4 separate regions of the Homo sapiens genome follow, and all the other regions are linked to region 1. Evidence: promoter capture Hi-C in 16 types of primary human blood cells and fetal thymus (Javierre and others, 2016). All regions are on one chromosome and are shown on one strand. The core of a region is centred on a gene start or on the middle of the fragment in contact, and the rest is flanking DNA. Distances in the headings are between cores, read along the strand shown.

Region 1 (5,583 bases), core at 2,269-4,768:
AGGGGTTAGATTAGAGGAAAGTAATTTAGGTGAGCTATCCAGAGCTTTCAACCTCAGGGTTTATAGGAAAAAAAAACAAAATACAAAAACCCTTAGGACTTCTCATACTCTAGCCCTGACCTTGCAGTCTCCTCTGAGGGGCCTCCTAAGACCCTTAAAATAATATTACAATAGGACTTTGAGTGTGCATTTCACAGTGGAAATAGCCTCTGGCTAGCATTACTTCCAAATGCTAGTTCCAGCTAAAAACAAGTACTTTTTATTAGTTTCTTGTCTTTCAACATTCTGCCATCAAAATATATTCATTTTATTAACTTACCGATTATTGGGAACCTGCAAAAAAAAAAAAAAAAAAAAACACACATGCTGTCTGCAGCCACTGTTTGGTTATTTTTGATAGTTTAAGAGAATTATAAATCAAGTTGTTCTGTCTACTAGAGTCAGAAATTCTGTGCTAGAATGGGACTTCTAAAATTAGGTGGTCCTGTCACTTTCTAGAGAAAGACCCAAATTCATAGGTTTAAGTGGCTTGTCTGACATACACATACAGCCAGTTAGTAACAGAATTCAGAATAGAATAGAGTTCTTTTTTTTCTGTCAGTCCGTTGTTCTACTTCTCTTTCCTTTTCTTCATGGTTGAGCAGCTTTTGGCAAAATGTGTTCCATATAGCAGTAGTTCCAAGAGATGTTAATAGATGTAAGAAAAAAAGTGTGTGTGTGTTGGGGGTGGGGGATTGCATGGTCAATTAAAATGAAGGAATGCTGAGTTTGTTTCCTTACTGTAGGACTTCTAAGAGTTTTGAACATGCTATTACACATTGTGAATTTATAAAAGGGGACAAACACTGTTTGACCTTAGACTGCACTCCCCTTCTTTATTCCTCAGAGCATCTCAAAGGACTACAGGGTCCTTTGAGAAACATGGCCCTTGATCAAGTTTACAACTCTTTGAGAAGACATCCCTAATGGAAATACTGAATGGCAGATCTATTACTGTGGTACCATGTAGTGTGTAATAAATCTTGAAGTCCAGAAAGCAAGTATATTTGCTGTTTAGAGCTATACTTAAGGTATAGAGATTCTTTTCCACCTGTGGTGTGTAAAATCAGTATTGTGTTTAATTTTGCAGGTTTTTCAAGGATCAACTAATGTGCAAATACAGTGGTGATATATTGATATTACATTTTAATAATGCTTTTGTATGGCACTTTATAGTTTTCAGACACCTTTTGTAACAGCCCTGTGAGACAGACAATATTATCCTTATTGTACAGATGGGGGGGCTCTGGAGGCTCTGAAAAGTTTTTGGTGATATTCCCCTAAGTTTATACCACAAAATGATGGAGCCAGAATTTAGTTGCAGAACTTCTGACTCCAAGTCCAGAGTTCTTTACTAGACATCTGGTTTCTTACTAGCTTTTTGCTAGCTTTTTATTTTACAGTGAAAAGTATGGAAGCAAATCCTGATAATTTTGGCTTATTATCAAATATCATTTATTTTTTATTGCAGAGACCCAGCAGATGTAACTCTCATTGTAGCCATCCCAAAGAAAACCCTTCTTTGCCCTTTGCAGTGCCACTTATTTAGGTAACTGAAGTGTATTTCCAGTACAATTTGATTTTGAACTAAGATTTGATATAGAGTTGTAATTGCTTACATAACTCTTTGAAAATGTATCATCCCTGGGTTCTCAGGTGAAGGAGGCAATTCAAAAGTAAAAAAGAATATTCGAATACAATAAATACCCTCTGTTCTCACACAAATGCTGTTTCTTAGCTAACTTGCTTTGACAACCTACTGATGTAACTTCTTTATTAATGTGAAATATTTATATTTTGAAATAAAATTACTAGTGTTGAATGAATCATGTGGTAAACTTAATCTCCTGTGTGTTGAAAAACTTGATCTTTTGTGAAGCCAAAGTTTCATGAATCCATCCGTCTCTTAGGCCTTCTGTTATGCCATTTCCTCCGGCACCATTGTGTACACTGAATTCTTAGGAGATACTGTCAACTTCGTAAGGGAAGGTGTGTCCAGGAAGTGGACACTGGGCGCCTTAAAGAGGTCAAGGGCCCTCAGTGCACAGGGGAAGGTGGCCTTGTGATAGGTAAGGAAGTGGTGAGATGGTTGGCTGAGAAGAATTGGAAGAAAAAGTTGGATTGAGGACCTGTCCTTTTTGAATGAAGAAAAAGAAGCTGAAGCTTGGCTATCTTCAATACCAAAGACAGCTGTGCAGCACTGGTAGATTGATGAAGCTGAAGCTACAGGTTGAAGCACTGTGAAGCGCCTTTCAACGGTGCTTGGGAAAGAGCTTTCTTATGCCTCAGGTTGATGTACCCAGCTCATCAATCTGGTGTTATGGAAGAAGAAATGATCCAGGCCAAGGTGTCCGGGTGGACTGGCCAGCCTCAGATTCTTTTTTACTCTGACAGGTTCTCACTGGCAGATATGGTAGTTGACAAAACATTTTTTCATGCTTCTCAGTCTGTTGCTTAAGTCTGGAATTCCTTCACGGCGTGCATACTGCTGACAACCTCCTTTTGGCCTTGCTCCTGGAGACCTTAGAATAGGAGTCTTCAGCTCCCCGCCCCCATCGTGGGGCTCTGTGCGAGCTCAGAGTTGTGCTTACAGAACTGATTCTTACCCTTCCCCTCAAGTGAGTTGTCAGAAATACACACTTGGTGTTTTCATGCAATGAACAGTTATGAAGAAACTGCTCTGTGCCTGGCACTAGGAAAAAACTTCGAAAAATAGTTTTAAGAAGTAGTGTTGAACAGTAGATGAGGCTTTTTCATGTTTCTTTTAAATTTCTTTTGAATAAGTCTAAACAGTAGTGTGAAAGATATACTGACTTCCTGCCGAATACCCAGATACTCCATTAATGATTGCATTATCAAATGTTTCCCCTTCAATCCAGCTCAAAGTGTTTGTGAGAAATACATGGTGAAAGAATGAGCAGGGTGGAGTGGAAATTGGACCTTCCGGAGAAGCCCCAGGAAGACATTACCACTGGAATTCCCGTCCCAGGGGAAAGGCCCCTCCCAACAGACTTGATTCTGGTTTTGGTCTACCAGTTTCAACCCCAGCACAGCTTCCAGAAGTCTTTGCGGGAATTCAGAGCTGATTTAGGACGAGTCACCTATCGAGAGGACGGGAAGCTTTGCTGGGGACGCTTGTCTGTCCAAGTAAGAGGAGGCCATGTGGCTGTGTGACAGATGTGTTTTGTTTCTCCTCGCCACCCTGGCGAGAAGGTGCCTGGAACCCATGGAAGGGGTCTGAGAAGAGATAAGGGCGGGGCCATGTGGGGGCGGGACCCGGCTTAGGGGGTGGGGTTGCAGGGAGCCCACACCAGGCTGGACTGCGCGGGCGGGGCAGAGGCCGGGGGTGGGCGGGGACATACGGTGACGGGCGTCGGGGACGCAGGGTTGGCGGCGGAGCCCTGGGGGGGCGGGCCCCTGGGGGCGGGGTCTCGGTTGGCGCGAGTGTCCTGTCGCCGCCGCCTCGGGCGGGTGGGCTGACTGGCGGCAGGCTCGCCGCGGCGCGGAGTCCCGGCTGCGGGATAGACCGAGGGCCATGGCCGCCTCTCCCGGACCCGCCGGCGTTGGCGGCGCCGGAGCAGTCTACGGCTCCGGCTCTTCGGGCTTCGCCCTCGACTCGGGACTGGAGATCAAAACTCGCTCGGTGGAGCAGACGCTACTCCCGCTGGTTTCTCAGGTAAAGTGGCGCCTGGCGCGGCCCCTCTTCTCCTTCCCGCCGCGGCCCGCGATGGCGGCCGCCGCTCGCACGACCGGACGGGAGGCAGCCGCTGCCCCACTTTCCGCGCCGGCACTGCGGCGTTCTTGTCGGACCGCCTGTGTGGGGCTCCGGGACGGGCCTCGGCCCGGGCGGCGAGAGACTGGATAATCCAAACTCCGGCGGCAGGGTTGAGTGGACTCGGCAGCAGGGGAGGCTGCGGGGCGGGGGTGCCGGCCTGGGCCTTTGCCCCCAGTACCTGCCTCGGGTCTGCGGCTCCCGGGTGCCCCCGGCCGGGCGATGCCCCCTCCGCGGGGCGAGTGGTTGAGCCCAGCTCCCGAGGCAGAGAGGACCCCCGCGGGGCCCCTCGCTGGTACTTAGGGCCCTCCACGATAACCGACTTTGTCACCAGTTCGCAGCCTGGTCCCGAGCCCGGCTCCTCCGCCTGGGGTATTCCTCCCGGCCTCCCCGCCCAGCGTGCGCTCCCTGATCCTTTGTCCCTCCCCGCCGTAGGTCAGTTCGCTGGCCTCCCATTCATCCCGGCCACCCTACCCCTTCCCCTGAACCTGCTGCTGCTCACTTCTGCCCGCTTCTGTCCGGCCTCGTGGAAGAGTGACGTGGAGACTGTATGACAGTTAATCCAGATGCACACCGTTTTGCCAAGTCCCGTTTGGGATGTGTGCGTTACTGTATTTGCCAATCAGCTAACCGACGCCCTGAGTTTTAGGAAAGTTTTTGTTTCTCTGAGCTGGGTTATATGCAGCTTCAGGGCTAGAATTCCTCACTTAGGTCTGTGGTAAGATGCCAAGCACTGTGGGGAGTGAATTCTGTGCCTTCGGGAGCGCGTTGGCGATGTGTGACTCACATCTAGGTTGTAACCACTTCGTGACTCATACTAGGATTACCAAGATTTTAGAGGTAGAAGAAATCTTAAAGATTATCTGACTAAAAATTCTTTCTTTAGCATCCTTGACACCTGGCCACCAGTACCCTGCTTAAACATGTTCAGTGAAGGGGAGCCTGTAGCTGTTGCATAGAATTCTAAATGCTATTATCTCTTCTCCTGCCCAGCCCTGCGCATATTTGAAAACAGCAGTTACACATGTCCCTGGATTCCTGTTATGCTGGTTAAATAAACATCCCTATTTTCTTCACCTTCGCATGGCTAACGGAGCAGTGATGAATATATCTGACACTCTCCTTCCCTTTTCCTGTGTCTCATTGAGGCTCTGACCAGTGGGAAGGGGCACTGGGATCCCTCAGTAATGTCAGACCCTCCGCTCCTCGCCTATCTCCACTAGCACAACACAACCAAAACGAGAAACACTGGAGCAGTTTTAAGAGGCAGAGAGATAAGAGAGTGATGGAGTTCAAGTTGATAGTATTTTATCCATTTTTTAAATAACACCTATGTAATGCTTACTATGTGGTAGGCCAGGTTCTAAGCACTTTGTAAATATTAACTCATTAATTCTCATAACAATCATGTGAAGTTGGTATATATTCTCGTGGTATGGGAGAGGAAACTGAGGAATACTGAGGTTAAATAATTTGTTGTTAGGGCTTTCAATAAGTGCCAAACTGGGATTTGAATCCAGGTACCCTGGCTCCAGAAGGTTCTCTTTGCTACACTATGCTGTGTCCTCTCTAGAGATTAGAAGCAGTAATGAGATCTAGAGAAAAAGATGGTACATAGTGGAAAAACAAGCTAGAAAGTCATAATCTGGAGAAATGGCAACTTTTCACAGTATCCACTGCTAAAAATGTATCAGTCTTACAGCTCTGCATTGTGTAACTCTGGGGTAAAAGAAGCCAGAGAAGGGTAGGAGAGCAGAGGAAGAAAAGTATAA
Region 2 (5,576 bases), core at 914-3,413, 1.5 Mb after region 1:
TCTGTATAGATGGGGTCTCACTATATTGCCCAGGCTGGTCTCTTAACTCCTGGCCTCAAACGATCCTCCTGCTTTGGCCTCCCAAAGTACTGGGATTACAGGTGTGAGCCACTGCACCCAGTCTATTATAAGGTCTTATGGGTCTGGCTTCCCCTAAAGACATGAGCTTCTGGAGGGCACTAGGAGGTTTCTTGATGTGTCCTTGAATACCCTCAGTTACTAAACTTAATTGAATAAAAGTAATCATTGACTGAATATTTAGCCAAAATCCTGGGTTATCCAAGGAAAGGATAAAATATCTCCTTTCCCCAAATTTTGGCATCCTGGAGGACAGGCCCAGTGGTCTCTCAATTGCTTCCTGTAGGTCGCCTGACATCCATCTGCCTTCCTCAACACACAACAAACCCCTCAAATGAACAAAACTCTTTCCAGAGTCAATCCCACACTTTGGGAGGCCGAAGTGGGTGGATCACTTGAGATCAGGAGTTCTAGACCAGCGTGGCCAACATGGTGAAACCCCATCCCTATTGAAAATACAAAAATTAGCCGGGCATGGTGGCCTGCACCTGTAATCCCAGCTACTTAGGAGGCTGAGACAAGAGAATTGCTTGATCCTGGGAGGCAGAGGTTGCAGTCAGCTGAGATCACGCCACTGCACTCCAGCCTGGGTGACAGAGTGAGACTCTGTCTCAAAATCCTGGCATCTCCTTTTTGTGAACTCTTCCTTGCCATGTAATTCTCTGCATTGACTCTGGAAAGAGTTTTGTTCATTTGAGGGGTTTGTTGTGTGTTGGGGAAGACAGATGGATGTCAGGTGACCTACAGGAAGCAATTAAGAGACCACTGGGCATGTCCTCCAGGATGCCAAAATTTGGGGAAAGGAGATTTTTTTTTTTTTGAGACAGAGTCTTGCTCAGTTGCCCAGGCTGGAGTGCAGTGGTGCCATCTCAGCTCACTGCAAGTTCCACCTCCCCGGTTCACGCCATTCTCCTGCCTCAGCCTCCCAAGTATCTGGGACTACAGGCACCTGCCACCATGCCTGGCTAATTTTTTTTGTATTTTTAGTAGAGACGGGGTTTCACCGTGTTAGCCTGGATGGTCTCGATTTCCTGACCTCGTGATCCACCTGCCTCAGCCTCCCAAAGTGCTGGGATTACAGGCATGAGCCACTGCACCCAGCAGGGAAAGGAGATATTTTATCCTTTTTTTGGATGACCCATTGGGCCTCCTTTCAAGAAAAAAGGTATGTGTACCATGGACATATGACAAATAATGAAGGCTAAAAAAAAAAAGAAAAAAATTGCACTTTAAAAGCTTAGGCCAGGCACGGTGGCTCACGCCTGTAATCCCAGCACTTTGGGAGGCCGAGGCAGGTGAATCACTTGAGGTCAGGAGTTCAAGACCAGGCTGACCAACATGGTGAAACCCCATCTCTACTAAAAATACAAAAATCACCTGGGCGTGGTGGTGGGCACCTGTAATCCCAGCTACTCAGGAGGCTGAGTCAGGAGACTCGCTTGAAACCGGGAGGCGGAGGTTGCAGTGAGCCAAGATCGTGCCACTGCACTGCAGCCTGGGCAACAGAGCGAGACTCCATCTCAAAAAAATAATAATAAAATAAAATAAAAGCTAAAAGAGGGTACTTTCCTGACCTCATGATCCACCCGCCTCGGCCTCCCAAAGTGCTGCGATTATAGGCGTGAGCCACCATACCAGCTAAAAGAGGGTACTTTCTACTCTAGGATATTGAGTGGGCCAGTCTGCCCAAACAGGAAGGTTTAGCTTTGGGTGCTGTGAAACCCTCCCATTTGGTTTGCTCCAATTCAAGCTTGAGACTCTTCTAGTTTGCCTGGATGACAGTAGTTTTCTGACCTCTGAATACATCTAAATAAACTCACTCTGACAGTGCGCGGAATTGACCATTGCCCTGCCTTTGAGGCACTGTTACCGCCTCACCTAGGAATGGGTAACATTGCAAGGACTGAAGCTGTAAAATTACGTAGGTAGCTCACAACTATAATGCCAATACTTTGGGAGGCAGAGGTGGGAGGATCACTTGAAACCAGGAGTTCAAAACCATCCTGGTCAATATAGGGAGACTCTGTCTCTCCAAAAAATAAAAAATAAAATAAAAAAATAACAAAATTAGCCAGGAGTGGTGGCATGTTCCTGTGGTTCTGGCTCCTCAAGAGGCTGAGGTGGGAAGATCCCTTGAGCCCAGGAGGCTGAGGCTGCAGTGAGCTATGATTGTTTTACTGCACTCCAACCTGGGTGACAGAGCAAGACCCTGTCTCAAAAATAAAATAAAATTACGTAAGACGTTTGAAAAGGAAAGCATCTTCAAGACCATTTAACTCAAGGAAAAGACCCAGATAAAGGACTTGTGACCTTGCCCAAGGTCACATCAAGTTGACATCTGAGGAACCAGCACCTAGATCTGATTTACTTAACAGGCCAATCATCCATGGCTTCATCCTAACAGCCCAAGGGAAGCTTAGAGGAATCAAGATGATCAAAAACATCTTGCTGGCTGGGTGTGGTGGCTCATGCCTGTAAGCCCAACACTTTGGGAGGCCAAGGTGGGTGGATCACTTCAGATCAGGAGTTCCAGACCGGCGTGGCCAACATGGCGAAGCCCTATCTCTATTGAAAATACAAAAATTAGCCGGGCATGGTGTCGTGCACCAGTAATCCCAGCTACTTAGGAGGCTGAGGCAAGATAATTGCTTGAACCTGGGAGGCAGAGGTTGCAGTGAGCTGAGATCATGCCACTGCACTCCAGCCTGGGTGACAGAGTGAGACTGTCTCAAAAACAAAACAAAACCAACCAACCAACCAAACAAAAAACACCATGCTCACCTCGGCAGCACATATCCTAAAATTGGAAAAATACAGAGATTAGCATGGCCCCTGCGCAAGGATGACATGCAAATTCGTGAAGTGTTCCATATTTTTCTGTTCTTGCACAGGCTCTTAAGCAACATGGAAATAAGGTTGATGGAAAATAAACATCAGTTTCTAAACAAACAAACAAAGAAACAACAACAAAACAAAAAACACCATGCAGAAAAGATGGCTTTCAGAGGAAAGTTCTGTTTTTTTGTTTTTTTTCCTTTTTTTGAGATGGGGGATGAGGTCTCACCCTGTCACCCAGGCTGAGTGGTGCAATCACAGCACACTGCAGCCTCAACCGCCTGGGCTCAAGAGATTCTCCCTCTCAGCCCCCCAAGTAGCTGAGACCACAGACATGCACCACCATACCTGGCTAATTTTTTTAAAAAATTATTTTGTAGAGACAAGGGTATCCCTATGTTGCCCAGGCTGGTCTCTAACTCCTGGGCTTAAGGGCCTCGACCTCTCAAAGTGCTAGGATTACAGGCATGAGCCACAGTGCCTGGCCCTGGAAAGTTCTAAATTCAATGTAATGTTGTGCTCTAACATCCAAAAAAGTATTTTACTGTGCTTTATCATCCTTCTGTATAGTGCTCTGTTACCGGCCAGCTAGGACAGGACTACTCACTGGTCACTGTGTTCCCTCTAGAGAGAACATAGGAACCATTCCCTCAAAATGTGATAGTATCATTCTGGCTTTGTTCCACTTTCTCTTTCCATGCAATTGATTCAAACACATGTAATCAATTCAAGGATCTACTTTACTAGCCACTGTGCAAAGGGCAGGAGAAGCAAAGATGAGTAAGAATCTGTAAATATGGCCAGTCGCAGTGGCTCACACCTGTAATCCCAGCGCTTTGGGAGGCCGAGGCGGGTGGATCACCTGAGGTCAGAGGTTCGAGACCAGCCTGGTCAACATGATGAGACCCTATCTGTACTTAAAATACAAAAATGAGCTGAGTGTGGTGGTGGGCACCTGTAATCGCAGCTACTTGGGAGGCCGAGGCAGGAGAATCACTTGAACCCAGAAAGTAGAGGTTGCAGTGAGCTGAGATCATGCCACTGCACTCCAGCCTGGGTGACAGAGTGAGACTCAGTCTCAAAAAAAAAAAAAAAAAAGAATACGCAGGTTTACAGATACTGTTTCCTCCTGCAACTGCTCTGCAAAGGGCATAAAGTGTAAGTTAAATGAAAATCAGCTTTCTAGCCCCAGTAAAAAAATTGTTACCTTTCTTAAAAAAGTGATACATGATTCTTTGCAAGACTCAACCATGTTAACTACAACCACATATACCATTCTCCCCCCTACAATTTTCTTGATTGCTTCTTCTTCTTCTTCTTATTTTGAGACTTTGTCTTGCTCTGTTGCCCAAGCTGGATTGTAGTGGCGCAATCGCAGCTCACTCCTACCTCTGCCTCCTGGGTTCAAGCAATTCTCTGCCTCCACCTCCCGAGTAGCTGGGATTAGAGGTGCCCACCACGGCCAGCTAATTTTTTTGTATTTTTCGTAGAGACAGGGTTTCACCATCTTGGCCAGGCTGATCTTGAACTCCTGACCTCATGATCCACCCACCTTGGCCTCCCATAATGCTGGGATTACAGGTGTGAGCCACCGTGCCCGGCCGATTGCTTATTATTTTTTAGATACATTTAACTTGTTTATCGGGTGCATGTTAAGGCATATTAAGATGTGTTTTTCAGATTCAGCATGAAGGTTTTGGCCCTATTCAAAAATATCACAAAATTCTGTTGGAATTAATAATTTGGTCAGAATGGGTCTTAATTTTCAAACCAAGACACCTTGGGTTGCTATGGATTGGAAACTGCATATCTAGACCACGAGAACACGTGATTTTGTTTTAAGCACAATTAACTTTACAGCGAGAGAGCATAACTGACATCACATATAGCTCTCGCTGTGCCAAAGCCCACAGAAAGAGAAGAGGCTTTGCCTAGGGGATTCTTTGCATTAACGACTTTGTTAGACAAAGCCACTCTGGCATGGGAATTGGATTTGCAATTTGGGTCTTTGTAAAAGGATTAGATGATCTCTATTGTTTAATGTTTGGATCTCAATTTGCATTTGGAAACACATGACCCCATTGGAGGTTTAGTTCTCTTTTATTTTCATGTTCTTGTTCTGATACACAAATGATACTATTTGTTAAAAAGTTGATAAAACTGCTTGGTCGAATGGTTGTACTGATTAGGAAGTGTGATACGTTGATCTTCTCTGTGAATGGTGGAGTCTACCTGGGCTCCAGCAAAACCGAGCCAGTAATCTATTTGCCAACTGACAAACAACTCATAGGGTAGAGGTCTGCACGTTTCATTGATTTCCTTAATTAGAATGCATGGCTCTTTGTTAGAGAAAGAAAGCACACAGAGATATGGTCAGACAGTGGATCTGCAGAAGGAATGAAAGAGAAAAGCCTCTGACTGCCTGGGGACATATTTGAACACTCCTGTTCAATGTCTTTGTTTATAAATAAAGGTTTGAGAAAATGTATTTTAGGTTTCAGATAACAATACTCTCAGCTGTACACGATGTTTAACTACTTGTCCTTTGGTAAACTTTTTTTTTTTTTTTATATGGAGTAGGAGTCTTGCTCTGTTGCCCAGGCTGGAGTGCAGTGGCGTGATTTTGACTCACTGCAACCTCCGCCTCCCGGGTTCAAGTGATT
Region 3 (5,467 bases), core at 1,736-4,235, 1.7 Mb after region 1:
CTCTGAATAAATGAAACCTATTTTCCTCATAAACTTACCTCACTTAAAACTATCCTTTCTTCTGCTTGTGTTCTGGGGACCATTACCTTTATTGTTGCCTCACACTCAAACCAAACTGGATTTGGTTATCCTCCCTCTTCTCCACCAACATCTTTACCCCTCTGTGTAATTATCCTGGGTCAGTAGTTAACTATGTCCTATATTTCACTCTAAAACAAAAACACACCTCCCACCTTTGACTTCATCCTAATTCCTCTTTGAGGAACCATCTGCTGTCTTCTCATCACAGCCATAGCTATTGAACATGTGTCCACTTTCTCACATTCCACTCATTCCTCAACTAATTGCAATTCAGATTTCCCTCTCAAATGTGTCCCACCATTGTCTGTCTGCTCTCTTTAAACAAATGGCACCTCTATTTACCTAAGCACTTGGACAAAAACCCTGGTGATTTCAGTTCCTTTTCCTCTTCCTTCCACACCTCACTTACCAGCATACCTGGTAGGTCCTATCTCTAAATTACACCCCAAACCCATCTCTTCATTCTCTACTGTCATCACTGAAGACAAGCCCACAACAGTCTCTAGATGGGATTACACCCTGTTTCCAACTCTTGTCTCCATATCTATAATCTGTTCTTCAGCCAGTTGCAAAAGTCAAGTAAACACACACACACACACACACACACACGCACGCGTGTGCGCAAAACCCCTCATTTTATTTCTGGCTCCCAGCCCTCAACAATCCTCCACCCACCACACTCATCTTCCCGGTGTTACTTCAGCAGGCCACACCTTTTCCTGCCCCAGGGCCTTTACACAACACCAGCCATCTTAGATGGCCAGTTCCTTCAACATGCTTCAGTTCCATATTTAAAAGGCATTGCCTAGTCATCCTAGGTAGCCTTCTGTTTTTTCTTTAGGGAAGCCCTTTGTGTTAATATCACTTATCTTTTTTTTTTTTTAATGTTTCATTATTTTTTTCTTGCCCCAACTGAATGCAAGTTTGACTGTGCAGGAAACCATGTCATTCTGCATGTTTCCCTGATACACAGCTGAAACCGAGTATCTGTTGAATAATTTTTTTCTGCAGAATTTTCAAAAATAAAGGTGTTTAATAGCTAAAAACCCCCAAATATCACAAACAGATTAAGCATTTGATATCTTGCTTAAAATAATGACTTTCCTTTTCCCATCCCATAAAACAATAAATTTTAATTATTTATTTTCTTATCTACTGATATAATTCGAGCACAAAGCAACTCAAGTAGCAATACATGTTCAGTAACCTAATTCCCAGATACAGAAATCAGTATCAATACAAACGAAATTACGAGCTACAAAAAATCAGAACTGCACTATTTTAACATGGTGTTTCTCATTTAGTTCTCTCTCACTACTTCATAAGAAAGGTTTAATTTCAACTCCTTTAAAAGATGAGGAGGGTACAGCTTGGAGAGATTAATAATTTGGTAAAGACTAGGTATGGTGGCTCACGCCTGTAATCCCAGCACTTGGGAGGCCGAGGCGGGCAGATCACGAGATCAGGAGATCGAGACCATCCTGGCCAACATGGTGAAACCCCGCCTCTACTAAAAATACAAAAAAAATTAGCTGGGCATGGTGGCACGTGCCTGTAGTCCCACCTACTCAGGAGGCTGAGGCAGGAGAATTGCTTGAACCCCGGAGGCGGAGATTGCAGTGAGCCAAGATCACGCCACTGCACTCCAGTCTGGCGACAGAGCAAGACTGTCTCCAAAAAAAAAAAAAATTCGTAAAAGTATTAAGTCATGGTGCAGAGATACAAACACAGGCTGACAGTCAAGAGTCTCCACACCTAATCATTACACTATGACTCCTAAAATCATGTTTCCTAGTTAAATTATACAATCTCAAAAAAATACCCATAAGCAATGTGATACTTTTTAGATCTTAAAAGTCCAAAGGCAAATGACTTGTAAAAAGAACTAGAGAGGCCAGCACAGTGGCTCGCACCTGTAATCCCAGCACTCTGGGAGGCCGAGGCAGGCGGATCACCTAAGATCAGGAGTTCGAGACCAGCCTGGCCAACATGGTGAAACCCCGTATCTACTAAAAATACAAAAATTATCTGGGCATGGTGGCAGGCGCCTGTAATCCCAGCTACTTGGAAGGCTGAGGCAGGAGAATTTCTTGAACCTAAGAGGCGGAGGTTGCAGTGAGCTGAGACTGTGCCACTGCACTCCAGCCTGGGTGACAAAGAGAGAGAGTCTCAAAAACAAAACAAAACAAAACAAAAAAAACAAAAACGAGAGAGACTGGCCAAGAAACAGAGTAATGAGGCAAAAGAGGTGGTGATGAAGAACCTTATATATGTCATTCAGAATAAGCTTTGATCAATATTGCCTGACTTCAAATAATACTACCAGGCTATTGTAACCAAAACAGCATGGTACTGGTATAAAAACAGACACATCAATCAATGGAACAGAATAGAGAACCCAGAAATAAAGCTGCATACCTACAACCAAAATGATCTTCAACAAAGTCAACAAAAACATACACCGGGGAAAGGACACCCTATTCAACAAATGGTGCTGGGAAATTGGATAGCCATATTTAGAAGAACGAAACTAGACCCAGACTTCTCATCAAACACAAAAGTCAACTCAAAACAGATTAAAGCCTAAATATTAAGACCTGAAACTACAAAAAAACCTAGAAGAAAACCTAGAAAAACTCTTCTGGACACTGGCTTAGGCAATCTAACAAAGTGCTATTATCCAGAACTTTAAAACATCAAGAAAAAAACAAATAACCCCATTAAAAAGTGGGCAAAAAACATGACTGGCAAAAAACATTCTTCAAAAGAAGACAGACAAGTGGCCAACAAACATGAAAAAATGCTCAACATCACCAATCATCAGAGAAATGCAAATTAAAACCACAATGAGATGCCCCATCTTATACCAGATGTTGGGCAAGGATGTGGAGAAAATAGAATGCTTATACACTGCTGGCGGAAATGTCCATTAGTACATCCTTTATGGAAAACAGTACGGAAATTTCTGAAAGAACTTAAAAACAGAACTATCATTTAATCCAGAAATCCCACTACTATGTATATATACCCAAAGGGAAATAAATCATTATATCAAAAAGATACCTGCACTTGTATGTTAATCACAACATTATTCACAATAGTAAAGATATGGAATCATCAATGGAGGATGAGATAAAGAAAATGTGGTGTGTGTGTGTAATAATACTCACCCATCAAAAAGAATAAAACCATGTCTTTTTTACAGCAACATGGATAGAACTACAGAGGCCACTATCCTAAATGAAATAACTCAGTAACAGTCAAATACCCCATGTCCTCACAAGTGGGAGCTGAACAATAGGCACACATCATATAGAGTGGAATAACAGACACTGGAAACTACAAAAAAGGTGGGGAGTGGAGTGTGGGTTCAAAAACTTCCTGTTTGGTACAATGTTCATTATTCAGGTGATGGCTACACTAAAAGCCCAAACTTCACCACCACATAATATATGCATGTAAGAAATCTGCACTTGTACTCCCTATATACAAATTTTAAAAATTAAAAAGAATAAGCTTTGGACTTATCTTCCAGGTCATGAGGAACTATTAAAAGAATTAACAAAGACCCCATGAGAGTTGCTTTCCACTCTGGTAAGGAAGAGGCAGACCAGGTGGATAAGGATAATGCAAGAGTACAAGTGAAATAAGGACCTGAACTAAGGCAACTAAATGACAGTGAAAACAAATATTCCAGAGACTTTAAGAAACAGAGTCATTAGTAACTGTGGAATGAGGGGAAGAAAGGGAAGGAGGAAGGAAGGAGAAAGGAAGGAAGGAGGAAGGAAGGAGAAAGGAAAGGAGAAAGGAGAGAGGACAGAGGAGAGAGGAGAAAGGAAAAGAAAAGAAACAGACTTACTGGGCCAAAAGAGGCAGAGGGTGGATGAATGAATGATGGTACAAGTAAGAAGTGAACAAGAAAAGAATCAGACTGGGGAATAAAAAATGAGTCAGTTTGAAACCTGAAGTCATGGAGGTTCTAAAGTTTTCTAGTTGACAATGTGAAGATACGAGTTTGGGAGTTCAGAGGGAGATCTGTACTGCAGCTGTAATTTGGGGAATCTATATAGTATATGGATGGTATTGGTCATTCCCATAATTTAAACTTTGAACTATGACCTAGAATGGAACCATAGAAAACTCATACATTTAATAGTCAGGTAAAATAAAACGAATTAACTGGCCGGGCACTGTGGTTCACGCCTGTAACCCCAGCACTTTGGAGGCCGAGGCGGGCAGATCACAAGGTCAGGAGATTGAGACCATCCTGGCTAGCAGGGTGAAACCCCATCTCTACTAAAAATACACAAAATTAGTCGGGCGTGGTGGCACGTGCCTGTAATCCCAGCTACTCAGGAGGCTGAGGCGGGAGAATCGCTTAAACCTGGGAGGTGGAGGTTGCAGTGAGCTGAGATCATGCCACTGCACTCCAGCCTGGGCGACAGAGTGAGACTACGAAAGGAAAAGGAAAGGAAGAAAGAAAAGAGAAAAGAAAATAAAGGAAAAAAGAAAAGAATTAACTAGAAAGCTTGAGAAGGAAGAGCCTGAGGTATGGATCAGGAAAAGAGTGGTGTCACAGCAGCCAAAGAAGGAAAGTTTAAAGAAGCAAGGTTAATTTGTACAGCAACAAGATAAATCAGAAAAATAAAATAAAATAAAAAAGCAGGGAATCAACATAGAGACTTGGGTAAATTAAAGATGAAAATGTAGAGGGATCCCGAGACCATAAAGCTGAGAATGGGAAGACATCGTCACAGAGGCTTGAGTAGCAGCAGCTACAGCATGGCCTCCCAGGCTCCCGGGAACTCAGGAGCATCAATGCATTCCAGCTGCAGCAGCAGTGACCACAGCCAGAGCCTTCAACACCATCAGGGGCAAGTGCTAGCTGGCTCCAGCTGGAGCCGAGGCCACAGACAGTTTACTGCCTCTCTGGGTAATCCTATTTTCCAGCCCTTCCAATTCCTAACAATTTCCTAAGATTAAGCCTTTCCCTCTTTGAAATAGAGTGGTTTCTGTTTTCCTGGCTAGAGACTAACTCACACTGTATTTGATAGCAGAGTGGTTTTAGGACACTGCTCCTCAAAGATGAAAATCTGGGGTTGTCACACCCAGGCGATCTTAGATAATTTAAACTGCCGTTTTGCCACTAAATGTACATGCCATTTTCCACAGCAACAAGGGCATCACGGAGTTCCAGTCCAACTAGCTCAGAGAACCAACTCAGATGCTAGGAGGTGGTACTGCTGCTGGAACCCTGCTGCTGTAGAAGCTAAGCAGGAATCCAGAAGCCTGTACTGCACCAAAGCTGCTGTTTCTACCTATTCCTCGCTTTCTCCCTCCCTGCCATTTAAAAGTAACAAACTAGGAATGGAGTTGCCAGCCAATA
Region 4 (5,532 bases), core at 1,683-4,182, 1.7 Mb after region 1:
TAGTTCTCTTCCTCTTTCCCCTGTAGTTTCGGCAATAGAGGCAAGTATGAGCTGGGTCTCTAGACCAGCGTCTTCCCTTCCTCCAGCGACCCGATTTCCCACAGCTTTTCAGCGACCCACGGATGCTGGGTCTTTCCCACTTTGTGCTCCTCCCCTGAAACTACACGGCTCTCCCTCACCACAAGGGGGCGTGCCGGCGCATGGCAGACAGCACTTGCCCTCCAGGTGTTCAGCCTGCTGCATGTCAGGTCCTGGCTTTTTCCATCACTCACTTGGACTTTTTGTTTTACTTCCTCCCTACAATGTGAGACAGACTCTCCCTCCTCTCCCACCCTCTATCCTTCAAAGACTTCAAGCAAACTTCCTTTTAGTTCCCTTGTCAGCTATAGGTGCTGAACTCCCACTACTGCCGACAAGGCCAGTTTTGCTTTTGGTTTTGAGACCAATGTCCATGAAACAAATGTGCAAATCAATAGCTATGGTCAGATACGCACCGTTTGTGTACCACATGTTCAGGGAGTGGAACAAGGGAACAATCCTCTGCTGACTCTGGGGCAGGAAAGCCTTCACAGAGCCTGTAACGTTGTTTGGTTTCAAGCGATTCTCCTGCCTCAGCCTCCCGAGTAGCTGGGACCACAGGCGCTGCCACCATGCCCAGCTAATAGTAGAGACGGGGGTTTCACCATGTTGGCCAGGCTGGTCTCGAACTCCTGACCTCGTGATCTGCCCGTCTCGGCCTCCCAAAGTGCTGGGATTACAGGCGTGAGCCACCGCGCCTGGCCACGTTGAAGTGGGTTTTAAACGTTGGCCTACTGAGGAGAGAGGAATAGGGGAGAGTTTCTAGGCAGAGCACACCAGAGGGCAAATGCATAGAGGGGTGGAAAAAGCCAGGGTAACGAAGCCCTGTTGAATGCGGTGGGGAGGGAGGGAGACCAGACTGAAGGTGTAAATTGGAGCAAGTACGCTGAAAGCCAAGCAGGGAGTTTAGAGTTTGTTTTCCTGAAAGCAGGAATGGAGAGCAGAATGGCGGAGAAGCATCACACAGCACCAGGTATGTAAGCTTCCAACCATGTCTCCAGCAGACAAGAGGGGACACTTCACCAGTGCCCCAGTGGCCTTCCCAGGTACTCTTTTCTGAGTCATCTAACACATCTAACAGAGAACCATCACCTAACACGGCAGTTCTCAAGTTTTTTGGTCTTATGCCCTTTTCCCTCTTAAAAATTGAGAAACCCAGAAGATTTTGTTTTTGTTTTTGTTTTTTTGAGATAGAGTCTCGCTCTGTTGCCCGGGGTGGAGTAGAGTGGCACGATCTCGGTTAACTGCAACCTCTGCCTCCCGGGTTCAAGTGATTCTCCTGCCTCAGCCTCCCGAGTAGCTGGGATTACAGGCCTGTGCCACCATGCCCGGCTAATTTTGTATTTTTAGTAGAGATGGGGTTTCTCCATGTTGGTCAGGCTGGTCTTCAACTCCTGACCTCAGGTGATCCGCCAGCCTCGGCTTCCCAAAGTGCTGGGATTACAGGCGTGAGCCACCGTGCCCGGACTAGTGTTTTTATGAAAATAATTTTGACGCTTATAATCCCAGCAGTTTTGGGAGGCCAAGGCAGGCAGATCACTTGAGGTCAGGAGTTCAAGGCCAGCCTGATCAACATGGTGGAACCCCATCTCTACTAAAAAAAAAAAAAAAAAAAATTAGCCAGATGTGGTGGCAGGCATCTGTAATTGCAGCTACTTGGGCTATTAAGGCAGGAAAATCACTTGAACCCGGGAGGCAGAGGTTGCCATGAGCCAAGATCATGTCACTGCACTCTAGCCTGGGTGACAGAGCAAGACTCTGACTCAAAAAAAAAAAAAAAAAAAAAAAAAAAGTTTTGATTTCATATAACCATCCCCTGAAAATAGTCCTCATACTGCATGTTAAGAACTGCTGGTCTAGCAATAACCAGGCAAATCACCAGAGGAACAAATAACTGTCAAAACAGCAGAGAGAGAAAGAAATCACAGGCGGGATAGAGACTGGCTCAGGGAATGTGAAGGAGCAGGGGCTATAGGGAGGCAGTGTCACTTAGGGTGACTTCGGAATCAATCAACTTAGGTTTGCCACCTGGCTGTCACTTGGTAGCTGTGTAGCTCTACCCTGACTGACCTCAGTTATCCCATTTGTAAAATTGCAAAAGTGCCTCATACGAGCACTTAGCACAGGGTGAGACACTGGACTTGTAAATGATAGCTCAATTTTCTTGGTCCAGAACATAACTTTATGAAAACAGCAGTATTTGTTTAGTAGGCTGTTTCTGCTTCTATAACATGTGTCAGACATGACCCCCAAAGGCACAGACACCTTGAAAAGTCTGGTGTATTATTAGCACAGTCACTTAGTCTAAGGGCACAGTGTGATGTGGCTGCCAAATCAGCAAGACCAAATTTAGGCTGTATTAATAGAGGTATTATGCACAGAACAAGGGAGGTGAGGGCTCCCCTGTAGTGCCTATTGCTCAGCCCCTCCTGAAGTATCGGGTTCATCTGAATGAAGGACTCAATACACTCGCCCCAACTGAGGGACTCTTTTCAGCTGAAGGCTTGGCCAGAGGGTGGGACACGGTCAGAGAAAACGCAACCACTCTTCTCAAAGACCTAAAGGATTGACACAGGAAAGAGGGGTTACATTGGCTCAGGGTGACCCCCAGAAGTGAACTAGAACCTGAGGATAGCCTGGTTAGAGAGGAAGATCAGAGATCCTAACATAGCGACCCTTCAACCACTGGAGTGTCTGAAATCCAAGAGGCCTGAGCTGGAGGGTGTGTGTGCAGTTATTGGAAGTGTGCATGTGGAGGCTGGAAGTCACGCGTGCGGGAGGCACTGCACTTGATCGTGGGGGTCACCTTCAAACCCTTCCCAATTTTGAGTTCCTGTGCCTCTGGAAGAGCAGCAAGACTGTCAGAGGAAATCAAAAGAAAACATTGAGAAGAGACAGTTCCTCGAGATGGGAAGGAGCAGCAGTGGGCATTCTGTTTGACAGGATTGCTTGGTTCTCTGCCAAATTTGACCTGGAGGTTGGATGCAGCTGCCAATCCTGTGGCCTAGAAACAGACAGGAGAAAACAAGGCATTGCTCAGAAACAGCTCATAAAAATAAAAACTTTCTGTTCCCCAAATGCCAAATGCTTGGGCGGTGCTGCCCAGCTGAGTGGGAAGCGCCCTGGCCGCTTGGGAACGCTGAGCCGATCACAGTGAGGCAGGGAAGGCAATGGCACCCTGAGATCAAAGAGGCTCACCCCACGCTCCTGGAAATAACTCAGCAACACGCTCGTCGTGGGAGAAAGGCAAAGAGAACTTCTCTTCCCAGACGGTCTTTGACTTCAGGGTAGGCAGTTGGCACCCACATCCAAAACCAAACCTGGCCTTTGTAAAGATGTTTTCAATCCACTCTCTCACTTGATCTCCACCAGCAACCTGGGGCAGGCATCCGCAGCTCTATTTTGCAGATGAGAAAACAAGAGCAGAGGTAGACTGATTTGGCTGAGGTCACCCAGCTGATGTGGCTGTGAAGATAACAATTGGGGCCCGACGGACTCCAAGTTCAAACCCAGGCCCTCAGACCTGGCCTCAGCACAGGCTTTCTGGGAGTGCAGCTGTCAGTGTGCTCTCCAACTAAGTCTCAGAATGCATGCCCATCTGGAACTGGTCAGTAGAACCCTGCAGTCTCCACCACCAGCCAGCTCACTGCATTATGTGTCAAGTCTTTCAGAACCTGGTGGAAAAGTCTTTGGAGCTGAGGAAGGAAAAACAGAGCTGCCTTTGAGGCACTGTTCATTGACCATCTTAGGCCACTTTCAGAACCGAAGGGTTCCGGAAAAGGTAAAGAGGAGCTTAGGGCCACAAGAAAGATGACAAAAGGCATCCCAACTATTGTTCATTGTCTGTTTATCCATCCAATGATGCCTCAGCATCTCCTTTGGTCTTTGGTCCAGCCCTTCACCAGGTTCTGGGGATACAGAGATGAAAGGCACAGCCCTGAATTTGAGAGAGCTCACCAGTTTTCTCTCGTTCAGTACCTTCAGTGATACACCAAATGCAGATAATCCCAGTTCAGGGTGTTCACTTTTATGGCAGATACTTAGAAGCAGCTGAGGGAACCCAGAGGAGTTCCTGGCCCAAATTAGAGGGGAAAAGGGGGTCACGGGAAGGCTTCCTGGAAGAGGGGCCATATTTTGTATATAAAAAAAATTAGCAACATAAAGGAGGTGGGAAAAATTCCAAACCACATAGCAATTGCTCCTTGTTCACGGGACGCATGAATCAGAACAGCAACATGCACCAGGACAGAGAGGAGGGCACAATGCCAGGGTGCGGGTTGCACTACCAGCCTAGCCTGTGGGGCTGCTTTTTCCCCTAACCACCAACCCTGTCTCTCACCACAAGCAGCACCTGAAACACACTGGTCCTAAACTCCAAGCAGGTGGTAACCTTCCAGTGGAACAGCAACTAGAGCAGAACAAATAAGGCCCTTCCTTTCCCATGTAGCTGAGCTTTCCTAGAAGCTCCATCATAGGAGTGCTACACTAGGAAATCTAAAGACATTTCACTTCCATTTCCAAGTCCACTTCAAATATGAATGCCTCGGCTGTGCAGGAAAGTGGCCAAGCCGAGTGGCAGCTCAGCACAAGAAAGGGAGCAGAGTGCTGCTGGGCGCTGGTTACCTTCAGGGAAGGTGAAATTATACTGAGGATAATGGGAGCCAAGTTTCTCACTGCCCTGGAAGGAGTCTGAAATATGGGAAGGGAGAAGATAGAATGAAGCTTATGGCATTTTTATTTTTTGAAACAGGGTCTCCCCGTCACCCAGGCTGGAGTGCAGTGCCGTGATCTCGGCTCACTGGAGCCTCAACCTCCTGGGCTCAAGCGATCCTCCCACCTCAGCACCCCCAAGTAGTTGGGACCACAGGCATGCACCACCATACCTGGCTAATTTTTGTATTTTTCGTAGAGACAGGGTTTCACCAAGTTGCCCAGGCTGGCCTTGAACTCCTGGACTCCAGCGATCCGCCCACCTTGGCTTCCCAAAGTGCTGGGATTACAGGCTTCAGCCACCGCGCCCAGCCTGAACCTTATGGCATTGGATCAGAATTAATGGTACCAGAGTGAACTCCCTTTTCAGTGTCTATGTATCAAATGTAAATGTAAGGATGTATTTACTGTGTGGACACACTTAGACGGCTTGGGAGCAGTGAGACTCTAATAGCAGTGAGCACGCCTAGAGCAAGGGTTTGCTTTCTAAATACAGTCTACATTAAGGGGAGCTAGAGCTCCTTGATAAATAGCCGATTCCAGGACTAGGGCACAGGAAATGCAAGAGCCTGGAATACATTACTGTGCCAGAAAGTAGGGAAGTACTCAGAGGGTAATGGCATGTCGAAACACAGAAGCCAGCTTTAAGAAAACACACAATCAGCCAGGTGCAGTGGGCTCACGCCTGTAATCCCAGCACTTTGGGAGGCCGAGGCAGGCGGATCATTTGAGCTCAGGAGTTCG

What was found. The method cuts DNA at HindIII sites, captures the fragments that hold promoters and counts their contacts. A CHiCAGO score of 5 or more calls a contact.
Region 2: a contact is called between a fragment that was not itself captured here and the fragment with the promoter of CTNNAL1 in region 1, in 1 of 17 cell types (neutrophils). The highest score is 6.0, in neutrophils.
Region 3: a contact is called between a fragment that was not itself captured here and the fragment with the promoter of CTNNAL1 in region 1, in 2 of 17 cell types (monocytes and total CD4 T cells). The highest score is 5.9, in monocytes.
Region 4: a fragment that was not itself captured here is called in contact with the fragment with the promoter of CTNNAL1 in region 1 in 2 of 17 cell types (fetal thymus and M0 macrophages); the score reaches 7.1 in fetal thymus.

The regions. Positions count from the first base shown.
Region 1 is chr9:109,011,434-109,017,016 of GRCh38, reverse strand. It overlaps CTNNAL1 (catenin alpha like 1), which reads left to right and starts at 3,518. Exons shown (of 19, transcript NM_003798.4): 1 at 3,518-3,715. The coding sequence starts at 3,575. It overlaps TMEM245 (transmembrane protein 245), which reads left to right. Exons shown (of 18, transcript NM_032012.4): 18 at 1-1,882. RefSeq lists a silencer at 3,276-4,165 and an enhancer at 3,827-4,330. The HindIII fragment of the contact is 6,099 bases long and covers 3,162-5,583 here.
Region 2 is chr9:107,472,415-107,477,990 of GRCh38, reverse strand. It overlaps the pseudogene RNU6-492P. Among named protein-coding and RNA genes, the nearest start is that of LINC01509, 8.6 kb to the right of the region's middle. The HindIII fragment of the contact is 665 bases long and covers 1,831-2,495 here.
Region 3 is chr9:107,312,319-107,317,785 of GRCh38, reverse strand. The region is part of intron 5 of RAD23B (RAD23 nucleotide excision repair protein B); the gene reads right to left. Among named protein-coding and RNA genes, the nearest start is that of RAD23B, 32 kb to the right of the region's middle. The HindIII fragment of the contact is 1,229 bases long and covers 2,371-3,599 here.
Region 4 is chr9:107,336,013-107,341,544 of GRCh38, reverse strand. LOC124902241 (a long non-coding RNA gene) reads right to left here and starts at 1,338. Exons shown (of 2, transcript XR_007061717.1): 1 at 495-1,338. RefSeq lists an enhancer at 123-417. The HindIII fragment of the contact is 3,740 bases long and covers 1,063-4,802 here.